2 separate regions of the Homo sapiens genome follow, and region 2 is linked to region 1. The links are contacts of gene promoters, found by promoter capture Hi-C in blood cells and fetal thymus (Javierre and others, 2016). All regions are on one chromosome and are shown on one strand. The core of a region is centred on a gene start or on the middle of the fragment in contact, and the rest is flanking DNA. Distances in the headings are between cores, read along the strand shown. Region 1 holds the start of DARS2 (aspartyl-tRNA synthetase 2, mitochondrial). Region 2 holds the start of VAMP4 (vesicle associated membrane protein 4).

Evidence for each region. Contacts are between HindIII fragments. The CHiCAGO score rates a contact against its expected background, and 5 or more counts as called.
Region 2: the fragment with the promoter of VAMP4 here is called in contact with the fragment with the promoter of DARS2 in region 1 in 7 of 17 cell types (fetal thymus, non-activated CD4 T cells, monocytes and 4 more); the score reaches 13.7 in fetal thymus.

Annotation. Positions count from the first base shown.
Region 1 is chr1:173,822,242-173,826,810 of GRCh38, forward strand. DARS2 (aspartyl-tRNA synthetase 2, mitochondrial) reads left to right here and starts at 2,432. Exons shown (of 17, transcript NM_018122.5): 1 at 2,432-3,115; 2 at 4,446-4,545. The coding sequence starts at 2,989. It overlaps CENPL (centromere protein L), which reads right to left and starts at 2,642. Exons shown (of 6, transcript NM_001387287.1): 1 at 1,971-2,642; 2 at 1,685-1,778. RefSeq lists enhancers at 1,919-2,158, 2,136-2,654, 2,389-2,948, 2,655-3,172, 3,814-4,327. The HindIII fragment of the contact is 2,471 bases long and covers 2,329-4,569 here.
Region 2 is chr1:171,739,781-171,744,349 of GRCh38, forward strand. VAMP4 (vesicle associated membrane protein 4) reads right to left here and starts at 2,285. Exons shown (of 8, transcript NM_003762.5): 1 at 2,130-2,285. The HindIII fragment of the contact is 4,907 bases long and covers 1-3,454 here.

The sequences.
Region 1 (4,569 bases), core at 1,182-3,681:
ATGGCCAAATACTTTGTTCATCAAGTTTGTTCATCCTTACTCCTCTAAACTTTCTGGGACCTTGTTTCCTCTGACATTCCATTTTTTAGGGGCTTTTCTCCTCCTTACTTTTTATAGTTCCAATTTATTTACTGATTCTTTTTTTTTCCTCATGTTCCAATAGTAGGTGGCCCCAGATTCTGAAAATCATTCATTCTACATAGGAAAATAATCATTCTATATGACTCCTAAATCTCTGTCTTCAGACCATTACAGCTGCAACCCAGTCCTGCATTTCCAACCTCCGTCAAACTCATTAAGTTCAAAACTAATCATCGCTTCACATCTTATTCAATCTTTCTTTGCCAACTACTGTACTCTGTTTTGCTCAGTAATAATTCCATTCTTCCTTTTCATTTTCTTTCCCCACTAAAAAAACTTTCATCATCTTTTACTCTTCCTTCAACATCACCTTTACATCTAAAAAGTTAACTTTGTTAACTTTATCATCAAATTCTCACATATTTCTTTTTTGAAGACAGAGTCTCACTCTGTCTCCCAGGCTGGAGTGCAGTGGTGCAATCTTGGCTCACTGCAACCTCCACCTCCCAGGTTCAAGTGATTCTCCTGCCTCAGCCTCCCCAGTAGCTGGGACTACAGGTATGCACCAACACGCCTGGCTAATTTTTGTATTTTTTGGTAGAGATGGGGTTTCTCCATGTTGGCCAGGCTGGTCTTGAACTCCTGACCTCAGGTGATCCGCCTGCCTTGGCCTCCCAAAGTGCTGGATTACAGGCATAAGCCACCACACCTGGCCTCTGACATATTTCTTAAAAAGATATACACTTGTCCTCTTAGATGTGGGCTTCACTTTCATTCTCAATTATAGCTACTTATCTTGTTCCCAATCTTAGCCCCTTTCCCTAATCCATCATCAGTCTTTCATTGTCACCACTTTTATCATTACCTTGCTTGAGATCCCATAACAGTTCCCACACATCTATATGAAGTCAAATCAGAATTCCTGTCTGGCTTTCAAGGCACTACTGTATTTGATCTTATTATCTGATCCTATCCAGGTTCATTTTCTACTACTTCAGTTCTTCCCCAAGATCCATCGACATTAGCCTTTCCAAAATCCAACATTCTGCATACACTTCCTCTAAGGTTTTGTATACAACATTGGGGGGTGGGGGGATGGGAGTGAAGAAAGTTCCAGTAGACAATTCTTTAAGAGGTTAAATGACAGCCCTATACCCAAACATGCACCCCCTACTCTAGACAGATGATCACTCTACTGTTCTCCCTGCCTTTTTATTCACCTTATCGCCAATTAAAAACACTTCTCTACTCCCGTTTGTCTCAGTAAATCTTATCCATTTTCCATGTGCCATCTCCTCAGAAGTTTTCCTGAGCTTGGCAGGGCTAGTTCTCTTGACAATTCCACTTGCAGTTGTGGTTCACAGCACACAAGTAAAGCTTTGTTGTTTCTCTTGTGATTAGTCCGTGAAGGGGCTCTGACTTGATCACTTTTCTACATTGCCACCAATACCTAAATCCAACCGCCCCAATGCCAATACTTAGCCAGTGTTAAGCACGTAGTGTTTAAACACACCTCAACACGCAAGTATTGTAAGATAATGACCACACAACAGGGCAAATACAAAGTTAAAGCAGGTCCGGGACCAATACAAAGCATCTTTACCAATAAAATGCCGTGATGACGCTGTCACCCATTCCGGATTCACGAATCATTCTTCAAAAGTCCGGCTCCAAAACTATGTGGAGACTGAAATCCCCTGAAGAAAAAAAAAAAAAACCGCCAAAATGACAGCTAAGACAGAGGCCAGACTAACCCCTGGCCCTCCCAAATTCCCTCTCGCTCCACAAGTGGGTTCACAAGAGACACAAACGCACCCAGGAAGACCTCCGCTCCCTCAGACGCGGGGCGGGCCCTGCGACTTCACTCTGGGAGGGACATTTCCGCTCACCCAGCTCTGCGACCCTCGCTCCTGCGGAGTCAGCTTCTGCTCGCGGAGGGGGAAGGGCAAAAGGACAGTGCGTCCCAACCCGTCCCTCTCCAGCTGAGCCTGTCAGAGACCAGCCCAGCTCTGAAATCAAGCCGTTGAGAAAAGGGAATTCGGCCCTCCGCCGCCTCTTCAGTTTAAAATCGTTTCCCGACTCGCTCTGCGGCCCCACGCAGGAAGCCTCCTTGGCGCCTCGCCGATTCCGTATCAGTGAAGCAACTAAAATTGCCATTTTAACTGAGGGCAAGGCCGAGCCACTTAACCACTATCGTCAACCTTTCCAATCGTGCTCGGTTGCTCCTCAGTTTTCCTACCGGTGCGAAGCTTTCTCTCAAATTTCCGCCCGTAGTAGGCATGGCGGCGGCACCTCACCACTGATTCGTTGAATTCCTTCCCGGTAATCTTGGGCACTAGCGGGCGGAGTTGAAGGGCGCTTGGACCCCAGCGGCGATCTGTGTTTGGGTTCGCGCTCTGGGAGAATTTTGGCTTTGCTCGCCTTCCTCTTTCAGAAGACTCGAAATCGGCCAGCAGGTCTGCGAGATTTGAAACGCGACTGTTACTCCTTGTTTTCCGGTTCTGGCCGCGGGAGCCTCTCGAGAAGCGTGGAAAGAGGAGAAGGGCGTATACCTTGTGACCGCCTCTGGTTGTCTTGGGCTCGCGCCTGGCGCCGCTACGTGGAGTCGCTCTCTCGTCGTCACTTTTGGCTGCCGACTTGTTGAGTAGAAGTGCAGACTGATGCTTTAAGACTCAGGGAGAGGTCTTTCCCTTATCTCCACCCCAGCAAGCACCCCAGAGACCTTGGAGATTTGTCTTGTTTCTAGACACGTGTACTCCAATGTTGTGCGGAGGAGGCCTTAAATATTCGAGAAGAGAGTGGGAACTCCTGGAATTTTAAGGGATTTCTGTGTATTTCCAAAACTGACTTTTAACTACCGGCAGCGTGGGATTTCGTGATTGTTTTTCGCCATCGTGTGGCTCCAACATGTACTTCCCTTCTTGGTTAAGTCAGCTGTACAGGGGTTTATCCAGACCCATCAGAAGGACCACCCAACCGATCTGGGGTTCTCTCTACAGAAGTCTGTTGCAGAGTTCACAGAGGAGAATTCCAGGTGAAAATAGCGAAGAGATCTATCCTATGAACAGTACTTCAGCCTGTTATCTACGGCCGGAGAGCTTTTATTCCATTTTTCATTTTTTCCCCCATTATTATTATTATTATTATTATTATTATTATTATTTGAGACGGAGTCTCGCTCTGCTGCCCAGGCTAGAGTGAAGTGGCGCGATCTCCGCTCACTGCAAGCTCCGCCTCCCGGGTTCACGCCATTCTCCTGCCTCAGCCTCCCGAGTAGCTGGGACTACAGGCGCCCGCGACCACGCCCGGCTAATTTTTCTGTATTTTTGGTAGAGCCGGGGTTTCACTGTGTTAGCCAGGATGGTCTCGATCTCCTGACCTCGTGATCCACCCGCCTCCGCCTCCCATAGTGCTGGGATTACAGGCGTGAGCCACCGCGCCCGGCTTTTCCCCTGTTCTTAACTGGATAGCCTTATGTGTAGAAGCGAAATTCACTCTCATTATATTCATTATACGGCAGTTTTTTTTCCCTGAGTTTTTAGAAAGACCACAAAAAGGTAACCACGTAATATATAGAATACTCTGCTTTTGGTTGATGCCTTAAAAAAATCCTTCTTCGGCCGGGCGCGGTGGCTCACGTCGTTAATCCCAGCACTTTGGGAGGTCGAGGAGGGCGGATCACGAGGTCAGGAGATCGAGACCATCCTGGCTAACACGGTGAAACCCCGTCTCTACTAAAAATAAAAAAAAAATTAGCCGGGCGTGGTGGCGGGCGCCTGTAGTCCCCGCTGCTGGGGAGGCCGAGGCAGGAGAATGGCGTGAACCTCGGAGGCGGAGCTTGCAGTGAGCCGAGATCGCGCCACTGCACTCCAGCCTGGGCGACAGAGCGAGACTCCATCTCAAAAAAAAAAAAAAATCATTTTTCACAGAATTATAATAGTGTTTTCTAGTGTACAAGTGGCTGTTAAACACTAGATTCATACTAAAGCTAAATAGTTCCTACACCGTCCATTTCTGCAGTTTCTAAAATCCTATTTCATTTGAGGAAGAAATGTGCAATATTAAGAATTGGGTAATTAGGATTTTAGGTCAATGCAAATGCTAGAAGATCAAAAAAATTTTGATTTCCTAACACAAGACAGAAATTTACATTCAGTTATTCACTTGGCTTTTGACACATTTGCAGGTAAATTTAATAGTGAATGAATTAAATTACATACTCTGACTTATTTTATTTTATAAATTTCCCCTGTAGCCCTGACATACCTAAGATATATTTTGAGAATTTTCATTTTTAAGCAACCTGCAAGTGATGTATTTTTAATCTTGCCTTTTAAAGTTTCTTTTTTTTTTTTTTTTTAAAGAATTCAGTAGCTTTGTTGTCCGGACCAACACATGTGGAGAGTTGCGTTCGTCTCACTTAGGCCAAGAAGTCACCTTGTGTGGATGGATTCAGTACCGAAGGTAAATTGAGAAAGACAGTCTAAG
Region 2 (4,569 bases), core at 1,035-3,534, 2.1 Mb before region 1:
TTTTTCTATCAAAACAACTGGATTAAACAAAGCTAGTTTTCTTTGCTACAGAATGACTCACATCCTGTTATATGCTAATATGCATTGTGACTTTCCAGGAAAATGCTTGTGTATGCAACATACTAAAATTTTTTTTTGCGAAAAAGTTCTTCTATGCAAATAATGAATTTTCAGTATTTTTGACTAGATGGTAGATGAATACCCATCAATTCAGGATAGCTCAGAAATACTGAATGTTTTACTATGTGCTAGGCACGGTGCTCAGTGATACACATGCATTTTCTTTTACTCTTTATGATGCTTCTTTAAAGTAGGCACCAAGAAACTAGGAGAAAACTAAAGTTTAGTAACGATAACGTTAGTCACTACATTCATTGAAACAGCAGAGATACAGGCCTAAATTAATCAATGGCTGTGCATTATCAGTTTTAATCATTTGTTCAATTAGTTGCCCATCAGGTTTACAGAATTCTGTTCTAGAAAGACTCACTTCCTGCTAACAACCCAATAGTCCTGCTTCCTTTTCCATAAGAAGAAACACTTAGACCTTTAAATTAGGTATAGTTAGACATCAGTTTGTTTGTTAATGATATACACTTAAAAAAGAATAATCCCAGGATCTGGCTTCACGAACCAAATAAAAGTAATGTTTTAAGTCAGCTGCTTGTCAAAACCAAAGGACACACTTTTCTTTGATAAGAAATGCTTCCAAATCAGAAATTATTCACTTGTAACAAAAACCAAATTCTTGCTGCCTGAGTAACAGCTCTTGAGTTCTTGGTTCCACAATATTTCTGTCACATACATCTGGCCCTTTTATTCCTCATACTTTGATGTCAGAATACTTCATTCATGCAGAAATGTAACAGAATGCATGGAAAAACAGATGACAAGGCAAATTACTGAAGAACTTGTGCTTTTAACTATTATCTGTATTTAGATTTTAACCCCTGCAATGAGGCTGCCTCAACATCCCAAAGCAAACAACGGGCAGACTTATATAATGCCTTTATAAGACATACAGTAAAACTACAATCTTAAGGATGAGCAAACACCATATTCAGGTCTCTTAATCCCAAGAAACCATGTGCAACAAATAGCCCATCAGCAAAGCAGTAGGCAGATTAATTAGCTACCTTGATGAACTTTGATGTTATTTGCAACTGATTATTAGTAACTGATATGTGTATCAAACAACTAGTAGAAATAAATCATGCTCAGAAAGTAGACTAGGATATAGTCTGCCTAAGATTTCTCCTACAAAAAAAGACATGTGAATTCAGCTGTTTGTGACTAGGTATACATGTAAATAAGAGAGCCATCATGTACTTCCACATTGAGGATAGACCACCACTATACAATTCACTCAAATGAGTCACATCACCGTATGCTTCTTATACATCAGCATATACTTAAATGTCTATGTGTGCGTTTTTGTAAGTAGTACGTTATCTAGTCAATAGCTTTGAATCTGGGCAAAGGCTCTCCTTTTCCCAGCCTCCATTCTCTTTCTGATTCGTCTTCCTTGTCTGTCATCAGCCTTCTTGCTTGATGCAGTTTCACAGAAATAAAGTGACTTGGATGGACACAGACCGGAGATATTATTTGCAAAACCTGTCAAGTGTAACGATTCACCCCCACCTTCCGGTCATTATAAACACAGCAGGGTTGGCGCTCTTTCCCCCGGGCCCTTTAAATACACAATTTCAGGCAGCTCCGTTCACCCCCCACACCCAATCTGTCACACCAGGCCACGTCCCACGATATATCTGCTCCTAACGCTGGCCCTTCCTGCCCCATTGTACCCCCTGGAATTCCTCACTACATCCCACTCTTAACAAACCTTCCCCATCCATGGTACTGTTCTCTTCCCATCACCCCAGAGTACCCCTCAATTCCAATTCTTCTCTCCCTCAACTGCTCCTCGTCCGCATACCCCTGTCCTCGTCTTCCTTCCTCACGGCACCCCCGGCCCCAACCTTTTCCCACTCCGGGGTCCCTTCCTAGATCCCCGAGGCCCGCCGACCAGCCCGACTAGGACGTCGGGGGGCGGCAAGGCAGGGGCGTCTTCTTCGTTTCCTTCCTCCTCACACCAGCCCCTCCCGCTGCGAACAGGCCAGCGCCAGTACCTGAGGCTCCCGGGGAACTCCCGGCAGCTCTCCCGGGCTGGCGGTGCTGGGCGGGCGGGGGAAGGAGTAGGAAGCCGAGGTAAGAAGCTGGGAGGGGGAGACAGTTGGTGCGGACCCGGCGTCGGCCGCAGCGCCGCAGCAGCGCCTCCGCTCATCGAGCCGATCGGCGCTCGGCGGCCTGGCGCCAGGCGGAGGGGGCGGGTCCAGGGCACGGAGATAATCGAGGAAGTCGATCCGCCGAGCCCTATTCACCTAAAAGAGCCCGAACCCACACGCAGTTTAGATGCATCTCTCCAAATTTATGCTGTGCTTTAGGGGAGGAACAACCACTGGTTGTCCACGTTCCGGTCGTGATCCGGCGTGCGTGGAGGGCGATTAGGGGAGGAGTGGGAAACTTCCGAGAACCGCTCGGGACTGGGCGCCGCGCCGGAGTGCGTGGCTGGGGTGATGAGGCGTTAGAAAGAAGGTGGTGCTTGGTGGCACATCCGTCCCTCTGGCTGACTACGTTGAGTGGCAAGTGGAGAGTGGCTCGCAGCTCGAGGACCTGCTTCGGGTTCGTCTGGGGCCTTTTCTGAAGAAAGGAGATCTGTTTGATCCCCTGTTTACAGAATTAGAGCTAGACTTGGAAAGAGATGTTAAGGCCAGGCTCCTCCCTTTAGATAGGAGGAATATCTGGTTCAGAGAGGAGATTGACTTAAAGTTAACACGGCTAGTTTAGATAGATACGGGACGAGGGCTCGGTGTTCTTTTCCCGGTATCCCTTAGTTGTAACCTGAAAGCCTTCAGGAAATCGCCCTCGCCAGGCCATTCCGCCACTCTGCCCATTCCTTCCTCACTCCCTCCCCCTCCGCCCAATTTGGTATCATGTTTAGATCTCCACGCCCGCAGTAGCTGTCTACCAGAAACAATTCCTAATTTTGTTTTTCCGTTCTCTTATTTGTTTTATTATCCGTTCCTCCCACGCCCCAGCTGGATTATTTTACTCATTGAATCATATTCACTACACATCTTTTAAAATTAATACAGTATCTATGGGTCCTTTGTTGATACAGTATTTTAACTGTCTGAAATACTGTGCCAGGCACTTTCTAAAGACATAAAAATAAGAGGGGGTGTTCAAGAACAAGAGTAGACAAGAAAACAGCAGGAGGAAAGATCTGCGGACACTAAAGGAAAGGAAAGAATAGACACCCTCTTACCAAAAAGTTGTTCTTCTTTTGTTTGATGTTTATTTTTATGTAAAAATGTACTAACGAATTTGAAAGATGCCATGACTAAGGCAACGATGCTCCACTCTGATTCACTTGGAGTTGAATCACTTGGAAAGCTTTTAAAACTACGTAGGTGCCCACGTGCTACCTAGATTCTGATTTAAATGTTCTGAGATTTAGAAACAGCCGTTGAGTTGTCAGTTGAAGGTTCTGAAAGCTTAATGCTAAACTCAGTTGCCTGTGTTTATTCAGTCCAAGTTGCTGTCCAAGTCAGCAACTTGGACTGAAACGGCCCACTTAGAAGAGAAGCCTCTCATGGTTTGTATCCCTGTCTAGGTGTGATAGTGGGTCTACCCCCAGACTCCACAGGTAACCCTGACATTATTTTTTCTTCTACAGCTGATCTTTTTTTTTTTTTTGAGATGAAGTCTCACTTCTTCCCCCAGGCTGGAGTGCAGTGACACAATCATAGCGCACAGCAGCTCTGAACTCCTGAGCTAAAGTGATCTTCCTGCCTCTGCCTCCCAAGTAGCTGGGATTACAGGCATGAGCAGCTGTGCCCAGCACTTACAGTTGATTTTATGTCTGTATATTTGCATGTTATGGGCTATTTTCTGGCTTTGGTGCCTTAGCCAATTAGAGTTTAGCTAGTTATAGCCTCATCTCTTAGACAACTTAAGGTGTGGTCAGTGAGCTCTAACAGGCACGTCATTGCATAGCTTTTACAGATAATCCATTCTTTGGGTTTTTTTGTTTTTTAAACATAATTCTTTAGTCCTGCCAGTCATTTTGGAATGATCGCTTAGGAGAGGGGTAATGCAAGCCCCACCCTTAATCACCTGAACAAAGTCCCTTTGACTAACCCCAATATTTGTGAAACTTAGAAAATGTCATTTTACAGTTAACATGAATCAAATATACCAGTAAGCCTAAAAGATTATAATAGCACTGAGCTTAGAGTCAGAACTCCAAGCAACTTGAGTTACTTATTTCCTCCATTTTCTTTTTAGTGAGCTTCAGTTATTCAGATGTTAGTCCTCTAATTTTCTTTTCCCCTTTTTCAACATGACACCTTCATCCTTAAGAGGGCCTGCTGTCCTCCTAGCTAGAGAATCAGCGTTTTGCTGTCTTTCAGGACTAAATCTCTGGGTTTTTGATGGGATAGCAAAGGGAATCTCAGCATCTGATTCATTCTTAAACAGACTTTATACCATTCCGCCTGTATTTAT